2 separate regions of the Homo sapiens genome follow, and region 1 is linked to region 2. Evidence: promoter capture Hi-C in 16 types of primary human blood cells and fetal thymus (Javierre and others, 2016). All regions are on one chromosome and are shown on one strand. The core of a region is centred on a gene start or on the middle of the fragment in contact, and the rest is flanking DNA. Distances in the headings are between cores, read along the strand shown. Region 1 overlaps RBM27-POU4F3 (RBM27-POU4F3 readthrough). Region 2 holds the start of GPR151 (G protein-coupled receptor 151).

The links. The method cuts DNA at HindIII sites, captures the fragments that hold promoters and counts their contacts. A CHiCAGO score of 5 or more calls a contact.
Region 1: a contact is called between a fragment that was not itself captured here and the fragment with the promoter of GPR151 in region 2, in 1 of 17 cell types (monocytes). The highest score is 6.6, in monocytes.

Annotation. Positions count from the first base shown.
Region 1 is chr5:146,275,560-146,282,774 of GRCh38, forward strand. The region is part of intron 18 of RBM27-POU4F3 (RBM27-POU4F3 readthrough); the gene reads left to right. All of the region lies in intron 19 of RBM27 (RNA binding motif protein 27), which reads left to right. Among named protein-coding and RNA genes, the nearest start is that of POU4F3, 60 kb to the right of the region's middle. The HindIII fragment of the contact is 1,354 bases long and covers 4,386-5,739 here.
Region 2 is chr5:146,514,035-146,520,755 of GRCh38, forward strand. It overlaps GPR151 (G protein-coupled receptor 151), which reads right to left and starts at 2,156. Exons shown (of 1, transcript NM_194251.3): 1 at 1-2,156. The coding sequence starts at 2,079. The coding sequence ends at 820. The HindIII fragment of the contact is 3,538 bases long and covers 1-2,667 here.

The DNA of each region.
Region 1 (7,215 bases), core at 3,813-6,312, 240 kb before region 2:
CCCGGCCCAGAAAGAACTTTTTAAAAAATAGAAAAATCTTTATTTACCTATCTTTATTTCACAGAAATCTTAAGATTTTTAATATCTTAATGAAGTTAATGTTAAGTATTTATAATTAAAGTTTAATTCAGAAGCTGAAAATTTTAACTCAGAGCCTTGCCAAGGGCACAGATGGGACAAAAACTAAAGTACTTCATCCCTGTTGAAGGGAGGTTCGGCTAGATACAACAGGAAAAGTTATTTTCTCTAAATATTTGGAATATATAGACTGTACTTTGATATTTTTCAAGTAGTGTGGCTCATTTAACTGTAAGAATTTTGAATTTTTCCTTCTTTTCAAGAAGTCTAGAGTTAGGTTTTAGGATTGATCAATTCAGAAATTCAGCTGCTCAGATTAATATATTTCTCTTCTTCTATCCTACCATGTTGCCTTTTATTAGGCTTTTTTCCTCTTGCCTTGACCTCCCAAAATGTTGGGATTACAGGCATGAGCCATTGCACCTGGCTAGTTTTTTTTTCTTTTTTTAAATTCCTGTTTTTACTGTTACTTCTTGATTTCTAAATTGTAAGCATTATATATTGACTTCCCATTAATCTTTCTGCTTCCCACCTCTCCAGTTTTTTTTTGACCTTGTCGTGTTTTCTTTTATTTTTTTGTTACGGATTTATACCTTAAAAAAATAAATTATTCTACTGTCATTTCAGTGGGTGTCTGGGGAAGGGTATGAAATTGCATACGACAGATGGTCAGTTCCCCATCTTTAGCCAGAAGACCCTTTGAGTCTTGAGAAAGTAAGAGGTTTATCTCTAAAGTACTGTTTAGAACCTGTGCTCCCACAATATTTATATAATTCGTTATAATTTTTATGTTCTTACTGGCAAAAACCTCTAATGTCTCACTCCTGTCATTCCTGGAACTTCATATGAGGCAACAGAATACCTCTGCTGTAATTACCAAAGACTTCGCACATAGTTAGCTTTTCCCCACAGCCTCTCAAGACAGGGATTTTCCCCCATCTTCCAAGTATCTGAAAAATATATTTGAGAATTTTACTGTACATGGAAATGATACTTTATAGTTAGGCAGATAGTTTTCTTTTGTGCTTTCCAGAACAAAAATTAACCTTTTCTGTGTATTTAACATTTGGAGAAAGTTTTTTAGATAGTGCTTCATTGATTGCCCTTCATCAGACCTTGTTAAAAAAGTAATGTAGGCCTGGCTTGGTGGCACCTGCCTGTAATCCCAGCACTTTGGGAGGCTGAGGTGGGAGGATTGCTTGAGCCCAGAAGTTCAAGACCAACCTGGGCAGCATAGTGAGACCCTATCTTTACAAAACAACTTAAATTAAATTTAAAAGGTAATATGGGTGATTTGTGAGCTATGACCATTTACTGTTGTTATCTGTCACAAGTGATCAGGAGTTTACCTTTTCTGCACACTTTACTGTGTTCAGGGTTCTTCAGGTGAAAATATAATTTTCGTAGCTAGTTCTAGGAGTGAAATATGGCAATGGTAATTCTGTGACCTTTACAAAGACATTGAAACTCTAAACTGCTGTAATTTTTTCTCTTAATTTTGAAAATTTCTTTACAAAGGTAGTTACTGCTTTTAGAACATTCAAACAATACAAATTATAAAGGAGAAGGCACAACAAATTTGAAATCTTACCAATTACATTTTTATGAACATCTTTCTAGCACCTGTATCTGTCATATGTATACATACTACCCATGCTGTTTTGGAGTTTGTTTTTACATCCATAGTGTATCATGGAGAATTGTTCATGTTTATGAATATAGATATACATTTGTCTTATTTGAAGGCATTCTGTTATAAGAATATGCCATAATTTTTATGTACAGCCCCCTATTGATGAGTTAGGTAGGTTGTTTACCATTTAACTATTATGAACAATGTTATATACATCATGTTAGATTTAGCATATTTACTGGGATAATTTTTTTTTTTTTTTTTTTTTTTGAGACGGAGTCTTGCTGTGTCACCCAGGCTGGAGTGCAGTGGCACGATCTTGGCTCCCTGCAACCTCCACCTCCTGGGTTCATGCCATTCTCCTGCCTCAGCCACCCGAGCAGCTGGGACCACAGGCGCCCGCCACCAGGCCCAGCTAATTTTTTTTTTTTTTTTGTATTTTTAGTAGAGGCGGGGTTTCACCATGTTGGTCAGGCTGGTCTCAAACTCCTGATCTCAGGTGACCTCCCACCTCGGCCTCCCAAAGTGCTGGGATTACAGGCATGAGCCACCGCGCCTGGCCAATAATTTTTCATTATGTGGGACAGTGCTGCACATTGTAAAACTTCTGGCACCCCTGGCTACCACCTACTAATTGCCAGTAAGTGCTACTTAGTCAGTGTGACTGCCAAAATACCTGCTAGAGTGATGTCTCCAATTGAGAACCACTGCTTTAGGTAAATTCCTAGGAAGGAGATAACTGGATCAAAGGCATGCATTGAAATTTTGGTACAGCTCGCTAAATAACCCTTCAGAATGTTGTACTAATTTATACTTGTAGTGACATTGGATGAGAGTACCTATTTGCTCATTCCCTCATATAGCACTTGAATTTTGTTTTTTTATCTGCCAGTCAGTTGATTGATACATGATGACTGGCATAGATTGGGCGTCAGTTTCTAATCGGGGAAAATGGCTGGACTAGATGAATTTCTCTTTGAGCAGCTTCTACCAAGAACCCTAATATGCATATAATTTTTAATTTATGGTATATATAGTTGATCTCATATTCACATATATATGTATTTTATTTGAATTATTTCCTTGGCCAACACACGTAAACAAAATGAAAAAGGAATAAAAGTGTATACAATGAAAAATAAGATTTCCTTCTACCTCCAGTCACTCAATTTCACTCCCCATAGACAATTATTGTTACGAGTTTCTCATACATCTGCTTAAAGATATTCTCTCTCTATATATATTATTTGTTCTCTCTTTTATAAAAATGGTAGCATGTTATACAACACCGTTTTGCCATATGTACTTTTACTTTATATTAGATTTTAAATTGTTCTACACTAGTGCATGTGGTGTTGCTTCATTCTTTTTAATGACTGCATGGTATTTCATTGCACAGATATATAATACTACAGTTGAACCATCCTGTATTGATGGACATCCAATTTTTTCCCAATTTTTTTTTTTTTTTGAGACGGAGTCTGGCTGCCTCCCAGGCTGGAGTGCAGTGATGCAGTCTGAGCTCACTGCATGCTCCGCCTCGCAGGTTCATGCCATTCTCCTGCCTCAGCCTCCCGAGTAGCTGGGACTACAGGCACTCGCCACCACGCCTGGCTAATTTTTTGTATTTTGAGTAGAGACGGGGTTTCACCGTGTTAGCCAGGATGGTCTCGATCTCCTGACCTCGTGATCTGCCCGCCTCTGCCTCCCAAAGTGCTGGGATTACAGGCATCAGCCCCTGCGCCTGGCCTTTTTTCCCAATATTTTATCATTTTAAACCATATTTAGATGTGTATGTGAGAGAATGTATATGTATGTGTAGAACAATTAGGTACTGTAATAAGTAACAAATATGTTAAGAGATTAATCCTAGATTTTTTTAAAAAGTACTTTTTAGGGCTGGGTGCGGTGGCTCACACCTGTAATCCCAGCACTTTGGGAGCCCCAGGTGGGTGGATCACGAGGTCAGGAGATTGAGACCATCCTGGCTGACACAGTGAAACCCCATCTCTACTAAGAATACAGAAAATTAGCCGGGCATGGTGGCGTGCACCTGGAGTCCCAGCTACTCAGGAGGCTGAGGCAGGAGAATCACTTAAACCTGGGAGGCGGGTTACAGTGAGCCGAGATCGCGCCACTGCACTCCAGCCTGGGCGACAGAGTGAGACTCTGTCTAAAAAACAAAAAAACAAAAAAAAAACAAAACTTTTAAAAATAAAAATATAATGTATGCAAATGGTTAAAAGGATGACTAGGGCCAGGTACGGTGGCTCACGCCTATAATCACAGCACTTTGGGAGGCCGAGGCGGGTGGATCACCTGACCTCAGGAGTTTGAGACCAGCCTGGCCAACATGGCAAAACCCTATCTCAACAAAAAATACAAAAATTAGCTAGCTGTGGTGGCATCTGCCTGTAGTCGCAGCTACTCGGGAGCCTGAGGCACATGAATTGCTTGAGCCCAGGAGGTGGAGGTTGGAGTGAACCCAGATTGCGCCACTGCACTCCAGCCTGGGCAATAGAGCAAGACTCTGTCTCAAAAAAAAAAAAAAAAAAAGTATGACTAATAAAAGTAAAATCTCCCTTTTATTAATCTTTTTCCATTCTTAAAAGATAGTCACTATTCTTAGGTATCTTTATAGAAAAATACTATGTATGTAAGAAAACATATATAAAGCTTCTCACTTTAAAAACATTTACGAAAATGTGATCGTATTATACATACAGGGCTGCATTCCAAACCTTGCCTTTTTCACATAAAAATCTTAGCTATCTGGTATTCCTTTAATTTTTTTTTTTTTTGGAGACAGAGTCTCAAGTCACCTGTCACCCAGGCCGGAGTGCAGTGGTACGATCTCAGCTCACTGCAACCTCCACCTCCCAGGTTCAGGGATTCTCCTTTCTTCGCCTCCTGAGTAGCTGGGATTATAGGCATGCACCACCGCGCCCAGCTAATTTTTGTATTTTTAGTAGAGATGAGGTTTCACCATGTTGGCCAGCTGGTCTCAAACTCCTGAACTCAGGTGATCTACCTGCCTCAGCCTCAAAGGGCTGGGATTATAGGCATGTGCCACCACGCCCGACCTATTTCCTTAAAATTTTTAAAGGTTATACCTATAGTCAACTAAAAATGTTTATAAAAACCAACTATACTGATCATAAACATATAGTTCAATGATTTATGAGAAGGCAAACACCTAATATACCTATACCTCAGGTCAAGAAATAGAACATTTCCAATACCCCAATCTCCCTTGTTGCTCCCTCCAGCCTCTATCTATCTTCTCTCCTTCTCAGAGCAGTAACTGTTAGCCTCACTTTATGATAGTCACCTTGCTTTCTTTATACAGTCAATCCTTATTATTTTCAGATTCCACATTTGCCAATTCATCTACTCACTAAAATTTATTTGTAACCCCAAAATCAATACTTATGGTGTTTTGTGGTCATTCTCAGACATACACACAGTTGCCAGTCCCCTCATGAGCCCGTTTTCAGCTGAGATAGAAATAAGGTGGTGCTATGCCTTCTTGTTTCAGCTTTTATACTGTAAACAAATGCCCCTTTTGCAGTCTATTTGTTTTATTTATTTATTTATTTATTTTTGAGACAGAGTCTCGCTCTGTCACTCAGGCTGGAGTGCAGTGGCATGATCTTGGCTCACTGCAGCCTTCGCCTCCCGGGTTCAAGTGATTATCTTGCCTCAGCCTACCTAGTAGCTGGGATTACAGGCGCCCACCACCACACCCAACTAATTTTTGTATTTTTAGTAGTAGAGACGAGGTTTCACCATGTTGGCCAGGTTGGTCTCAAACTCCTGACATCGGCCTCCTAAAGTGCTAGGATGACAGGCGTGAGCCCCTGCGCCCAGCCTTTGCAGTCTATTTAATGCCACATTTTTCTCAATTTTTTTTGTTTTCTTGGTGATTAAACTGTTTTAAATGGCCCCCGAATGTAGTTCTAAAGTCCTGTCTAGTGTTCCTAAGTGCAAGGCTGTGATATGCCTTACAAAGATACATGTGTTAGTTAAGCTTTGTTCAGGCATGAGTGAGTGCTTTTGGCCATGAGTTCAATGTTAATGAATCAGTAACATATATTAAATAAGATGTCTTTCAACAGAAACACATAAAACCAAAGTTTGTGTTGATTAGCTGACAAAAATGTTGTGACCCTCTAAAACAGGAGTGTCCAATCTTTTGGCTTCCCTGGACCACACTGGAAGAAGAATAATTGTCTTGGGCCACACATAAAATACACTAACACTAATGATACCTGATGAACAGGAAAAAAAAATCTCATAGTGTTTTAAGAAAGTTTATGAAATTTGTGTTGGGCTGCATTCAAAGCCATCCTGGGCCATATGTGGCCCATGGGCCACAGGTTGGACAAGGTTGCTCTAGAGGCTCATAAGAGTCTAATTCTATTTCCCCTATAAGTAGTGGCTATTTGCCAGTTAAATGTTTGCATCAACTTTTTAGAACAAAACTACTGCAAGTAATGAGAATTGACTGTAGTTTTATCACCTAAATATGCATTCCTAAATATTAGAGTAGTATTCTGCCTGTTTTTAAAATGTTATGTAAATGGAATCACACAGTGTATATTCTTTTGTGCTTGGCTTCTTCTGTTTAATGTTTGTGAGACTCATTCATGTTTTTACATGTAACATTAATTTGCCATTTTTATTACTATATAATAGTTGTATCAATATACCACAGTTTATTTTTCATCTTTTTTTTTTTTTTTTTTTTTGAGATGGAGTCTCACTCTGTTGCCCAGGCCAGATCACAGTGGCGCGATCTCGGCTCTTGGCAACCTCCACCTCATGGGTTCAAGCGATTCTCTCCTGCCTCAGCCTCCTGAGTAGCTGGGATTATGGGCGTGTGCCAGTACCCCTGGCTAATTTTTGTATTTTTAGTAGAGATGGTGTTTCTCCATGTTGGACAGGCTGGTCTTGAACTGCTGACCTCAGGTGATCCGCCCACCTCGGCCTCCCAAAGTGTTAGGATTACAGGCGTGAGCCACCGCACCCAGCCTCATCCTCTTACTGATGGATGTTTGGGTTATTTCTACTATGTGGCTTTTGTAAGCAGTGTTGCTATCTTATACATGTTTTTAACTACACATGTACACACCATTTCTCTTGGATATACAGTTGGCCCTTCATATGTGTGGGTTTCACCTCCATGGATTCAACCTATTTTGGATCAAAAATATTGGGAAAAAAATGAAAGGTTGCATCTGTACTGAGCATGTACATTTTTTGTCATTATTCCCTAAACAATACAGTATAACAACTATTTACATAGCTTTTACATTGCATTAGATATTATAAGTAATCTAGAGAGGATTCAAAGTATATAGGAGAATGTGTGTAGATTACATGCTAATACTACACTATTTTATGTAAATGACTTGAGCATTCATGGATTTTGGTATTCACAGAGAGTCCTGGAACCAGTCCCCCAGAAACACCAAGTGATGACTGTATGTGGAATTGCTGAG
Region 2 (6,721 bases), core at 906-3,405:
ACTTTCCCACATTTTGGAAGTGAAGAGAGGACATTTTTTTAAGTATTTTTTCCCCCATATCAGACTACTGAATGTCATTGGAAAGCTGCTACAATTCTTAGACTTAGAAACTGAAGACTCATTCAGGTAGCTTTAAAAAGTTCACTGAAGCAGGCTTTAGTTTAAGTTTGAATTTATTTAAACTTGGCCAGAACCAGCCATGGCTTGAAATGAGTCCAGAATTGGAATAAGGTGCTGTTTCTTTTTCTTTGACCTTCAGTCATGAACATTATGATACGGACTTTTCATCAAGTAAATTAACACTTATTAAGTAAATGAAGAACGCATTAAAATTTATCATTAATGTGTTAAAAATCTCAAGTGAAAGTAGATTTTGAGCTTTGGTTATGTGAAATACAATTTAGTAGGTAAAATTAGGACTAGCAGGTCCTGGGTGAAACTGAAGGTAAAGGGGCTCAGCTTTGACAGAACCTCTACTGCAGGCTCCAGCCGGTCCACTACAGGGCTGGTCCTAGGGGGTACCCAGTAAAACCACTGTGAACAAATGACAGAATAGCCAGGCTGTCTAATCACTTTGACAGCAACATCTTTACACAACACTTAAATTGTTTGGGAAGCCAAGTTCTAATTCTGAAACAATTATTACTTCTAACATGGTTCTCTACTTACCACATTGCACATTTGGAAAGTGTAGATTGTGAAATATTTTTATAATTCCTAATGGTAATAATTATATCAGTTTGTAAAGTCAGCAATATTGATAAGCAGCAGTACAAGTAAATACAATAATCACAGTTTGTTTTGCTTTGAAACTTAAATCTATTTAACACCTTCCCCTGTCTCTTGATCTTCATGTTCCCAGGGGATAGGGTCATTGTCCTGTACAGAAGGGACTGTGTCCCTCTCATGCCAAAACTGCTCTACGTCAGGAAGGATGGGAATCTCTGCCTTCTCAGTTTTCCCTTTGCCAGAGGAGGGAGAGCTGGGTTTCTCTTTTTCTGGTATGGATGCTGGGGATTCTGGAGATGGAACCTTGTCAGGAAGACCCTCTGAGTTGCCAGCTGGTGTTTCCTGAGACTCTGAGACAGTTGGAGGTTTTTTGGTTATCATCCATTTCCATACACCTTTCAAGCCTTCCCTGAACTCTTCCGACATCACAAGAAAAATGAGAGGATTTGCTGAAGAGATGGAAAACATCAAGACTTGAGACAGGGCTATGAAACCTTGTGGTGGGGCCGGGCCTGCAGCCTTCAGATGCCATACCCACAGCCAAGCTACCCATTCGGGGAGCCACAAGAGAGCAGAGATGATGGCAATGCTCAGCAGCATCACTGTGACTTGCTTTGAGCGTATCTGGTTTCTAAGATTTTGAGTCTTAGTTCCTCGTTTTTTACATTGGTCATAAGCTCTCCAGAAATAAAAGCTGGCAAAAAATAATGGAAGGCCAAATGCCAGGAGTGGGTAGAGCTTACCAAACATCGACATAAACTCTTCAGCCACAGCTGGTACATCCACGAGGCACATTTCCACACCTTCATGATGCCTGATGGTGCTAAAGAACCATTCCGGCAGGGGTAACAGGCTAGCCACAGTCCAGATGGCCACCAGCACTGACCAGATGGTGTAGTTGTGGATACTCACTTGCTTGGCTGGGTCACTTGCATACATGAAGCATACTTTGGCCACCACAACGATTGTCAGGCTCTTGGCTGCCATGCATGTGTGGATAAACCAGTCAGAGGACTTGCAGACAAACCAGCCTAGATCCCAAACACTTTTGGAGTACGCCGTAGCTCGGATAGGTGCAGAAAACAGCAGGAGGGAGAGATCAGCCAGGCTGAGATTCAGAATCAGGGAGTGGATCATGGATGGCTTTCCTTTCCAAGCATTGTGAAGGAGGATGCCAATCACACACAGGTTTCCCACGAAGCCCACCAGGCAGACAGCCACCAAGAGAGCCGGGATGATGGTTCTCCAGTCCTGGGAATCAGAGGGCAGGTACCCTCCGGCAAAGTGGAGGTGAGCAAAGGACACATTCATGCTGCTGGAGTTAGAGTCTGCAAAGGCAGCTGCCAGCATCACTCTTCACAGCTTCTTACAGAAGTTAGATTCTTATTTAGGTTTGTCTTTCTGCCTGGGCTCTTTTGCATAGGAAATAAGTACTCTGTCGTCAGTGTCAAATGACACTTCTGGATCCTCCCCTTGCTTATTTCCTGAGAGCAGAATGTGGAAGGAGGCTGGCTGTTAAGCTCTTCTCTGCTGCATACAATATACTTGTGACTGTACCGACTGTCAGATAGCAGGAGCACATGGCTGCTGCTCATTAGCAAGTCTAATACCAAATCGTCAGCCCTGTGGAGTAATACAAATATACCCATAAATGATGAATGAAGAGAACATACATGTAAGTGGCATGTGTTCCTTGGGGGGTCACTAGAGCCAGTCAAGGCAATTATTTTCAACCAGCTCTTCCTAAAATCTTGACTGCTGTCTGTAATTTAGTGAACACTACATCTGAACCAAGTTCTTTGAACTTCACCTGATGGCCGGATCCAGTGGGTCTGGAGTAGGGCCCAAGAAATCATTTCTAACAAGTTCCCATGAGACTCTGATGCTGCAGGTTGGGAGACCACACTTTGAGAACCACTGTTTTAAACTGAGAACTAAAGCTTCCCCTACCCACTCTGCAGAGATGAGCTTCCTCTTCTTTTCCCCAACCCTTACAACCACCTCAGTTCCATCAACAGCTGGCTGAGTTCAAACACAGCTGGATAATGAAAACAAGTTAGAAGTCCTATTAAAAAAATCTAATTATGGATGACTCTCAGTTTATTCTATTACGAGTTTTTAGAAGCAATTTTACAGCTCCAAATTAGAACTGCTTTACATACTAATAAGACTTTTCAACAAGTGATGGTGATGAAGGCAACTGCATGATGAATTAAGCTGCTTTTCAGAGAGCATTCCTAGAGGATTTACCAAGACAAGAGAAATGAAAGAAAAATCAATATCTATGTGGAAGGCATTTAAGAGATTTTTTTAAATTATATTTTAAAGTTGGTAAAGATTTTGTGCTGGGCACACTGGCTCATGCCTGTAATCCCAGAATTTGGGGAGGTGGAGGCGGGAGGATTGCTTAAGGCCAGAAGTTCGAGACCAGCCTGGGCAACAAAGTGAGACCCCTGCCCCCACCTCTACCAAACAAACAAGAAAAAAAAAAAAAAGAAAAAAAAAAAAGTCAGCCATGATGGTGTACACCTGTAGTCCTAGCTACTTAAGAGACTGAGGTGAGAGGGTTGCTTAAGCCCAGGAGTTCGAGGTTGCAGTGAGCTATGACTGTGCTGCTGCACTCCAACCTGAGTGACAGAGTGATCCTCTGTCTCTAGAAATAAAAAAATTCTCAGATAAGATGATTTGGTAGAACTAGCCCTGAAATTTTAAAATAAGCAATGGATACTCTGGGGGGATTAGAGGAGCTCAAAATGTTCAGAGAATGGGGTTTGTGGGGTTGATATGAAGATACATGCTACATTGAGTGTGGCTAGTCAGAAAAGCTAAAGCATGATATACAGGAGAGTATGCTGCTGCATTCAGATCTCTGGATTCTGGTACTGTGCTTTCACGTTTTTCGCAAGTAAAGAAGGGTCTGACGTTTTAAAATTCTTCAGTGTCCTAGAAAATAAATAAGTAGTGATCAGTATAGCTATTGGGACAGTGGTCAGTGGTGCTGGGTTCCTTTGTTTCCATTTCTATTTCCTTTTGCTTTCCTTCCTTTTACCTCTGGGAAGTAGTTGTTCCTATAGAACAGTAAATTGGGGCAACACCTTATTCCAGCAAGGCACAGTAACTCCCAGTAACTACTTAAGGATGAAATATCCTTGAGTCTCAACAAGCATCACTTTTGGGTGTGAAGAGGCCCGCAACGTCTTACAGGGAAGAAAATGGGGGAGGGAGCAGAGTGATGTTTTGCAGATTGTAGACTACAAGGAAGGTAGTTCACTTGATGTATGTGGAAGAGATTCATTCAGAACCAAGAAACAAATATACTGCTTCACACTGTGGCTTATATATTCAAGATTATGATATTCAAGCCTCCTGAAGCTGTATAAGATAAAAAGCTAAATGGGTTCAAGCCACCTTTAATACCATGGAAATTTGATTCTTAATAGACAATTGAGGGAAACTAAAGACTGTCATGTGGTACTTCCCAAGTCTATTGGTACTGACTCAGGGAAGCATCTCCTGGTGCTCCAGCTAGAGATAAAGTCTTTGGACTGAAGGATAATGAACTTTCTCCGCTCTTTTGGGGGAAATTTATTTTAACTTTTTATTTAAAAATAATTGCTTCTGGGCACGGTAGCTCACACCTGTAATCCCAGCACTTTGGGAGGCCAAGGCAGGTGGATCACCCGAGGTCAGGAGTTCAAGACAAGCCTGGCCAACATAGTGAAACCCCGTCGCTACTAAAAAATACAAAAATTAGCCAGGTGTGGTGGCACATGCCTGTAGTCTCAGCTACTCGGGAGGCTGAGGCGGGAGAATTGCTTGAATCTGGGAGGCTGAGGTTGCAGTGAGCCGAGATGGTCCCACTGCATTCCAGCCTGGGTGACAAAGAGAGACTCTGTCTTAAAAAATAAAAAAATAAAAATAATTGCAAATGTATAGAGAAAAAATGCAAGAAGAGCACAAAGAATTGCCCTATATACTTCATCTGAGTTCACCGATTAATTATTTATTGAGACACAGTCTCACTTTGTCACCCCAGGCTGGAGTGCAGTAGCGCACTCTTGGCTCACTGCAAGCTCTGCCTCCTGGGTTCATGCCATTCTCCTGCCTCAGCCTCCTGAGTAGCTGGGACTACAGGTGCCCGCCACCATGCCTGGCTAAATTTTTTTTTATATTTTTAGTAGAGACGGGGTTTCACCGTGTTAGCCGGGATGGTCTCGATCTCCTGATCTCGTGATCCGCCCGCCTCGGCCTCCCAAAGTGCTGGAATTACTGGCTTGAGCCACTGCGCCCGGCTGAAAATTTCAACATGTGATTTTGGAGGGCACATAAAGATTCAGACCATACTACCCAAGTTTCACATTTTACTTTGAATATTAGCCCTTGTATATCTGAGTATCTGATGGATGTTATATGTGGCTTGTATCTACATTTTCTTCATTTTAAAATTATTTCCGTATAAAGGATAAATGTAATTAGCAAACATAAAAGAAGTCTTTATTTGCATTATAAGTGGAAGTTATTTGAATCTTTGTTTATAGCATATTCACTTAAAACATAGAATTCAGTTGTAGATGTGGTGAACATTTGTCAGGTTTCCTTATTTTTATTTATTTTGGGGAGGTGCCTAGTATATGAACCTCTCCTGTTGGATAGAAGGGATTCTGGGGAAAAATGATATGGATGGGGTGGATAGAGCAGAACAATTAAAAACAATTGAGAATTATTTGAGATGGAAACTGGAAACAACCTCATCCCCACAAAATGCTGGAAACAACCCAAATGTTTATCAGCTGGTCAATAGATAAACAAGTGGCTACCTTCATGCCATGGAACATTATTCAGCAATAAAAATGAATGATAAATTCAACAATATGGATGAAAAAAAGCACTATGCTAAATAAAAACATCCAGACCAAAAAAAAAAATACCTACAGTAAGATTCCATTAATAGGAAATGTCCAGAAAAGGCAAATCTATAGAAACAGGAAGTAGAATAGTGGTTCCCTGGGTCCCGAGGTGTGAAAGGGGAGTGACCGCAAATAGGCACAGAGGATATGTTTGGGGTGATGAAAATGTTCTATGATTGCATTTTATGGTATGCAAATTATACCTCAATAAAAGCTCTTTTCAAGAAAGGAGTTATTTGGGATGGAGAAAAGGTAAAGAGCAGATTTCCCTGCTCTTGAAATGCTGAGTAGCCTCCAGCAGAATGGATATTCTATTCTGAGACTTTTAAATTTATTTTTATTTTTATTTTTTCTGAGGGCTCTGTCGCCCAGGCTGGAGTGCAGTGGCACGATCTCAGCTCACTGCAACCTCAGCCTCTTGAGTAGCTGGGTCTACAGGTGCCCGCCACCATGCCTGGCTAATTTTTTTGTATTTTTAGTAGAGATGGGGTTTCGCCATGTTGACCAGGCTGGTCTCAAACTCTGACCAAAAGCAATCCACCCACCTCGGCCTCCCAAAGTGCTGGGATTACAGGCATGAGCCACAACAGCCTATTCTGACTGATTTAAAAAAATAGTTTATGAAGAAAGAGACTGTGGCCTAGAGGGACCAAGCGAAAGGACAGTGCTGGGTGAGAAAGGATATGAGGGGAGCAGGGAGAAAGGGAGACTCAGAACGTAGAGACACAAAATTTGCTGGGTCCCTCTGATGCCTAGTGTCCCTGGCTTTAAATGGTCTTTCAGAAAAGCCTTCTCTAATTCCACACTTAAGCTAAGGCTGTAGCCACAGAGCAGCTGCCAACCCCAAATGCGTCAGCTGTGTCACTTTCCTGACACACACACCACTCATAGTGATGTTGCCAGGAGGTTGGCTCTGGACATTGAGAAGCAGTCATCAAACAACTGAACATCTGAGCTGTAGGCATATATATATATATATATATATATATATATATATATATATATATATATGTACACACACACACACACACACACACACACACACACAATTCTGCTTTATATGTAAGTTACAGGGGACCTCATTC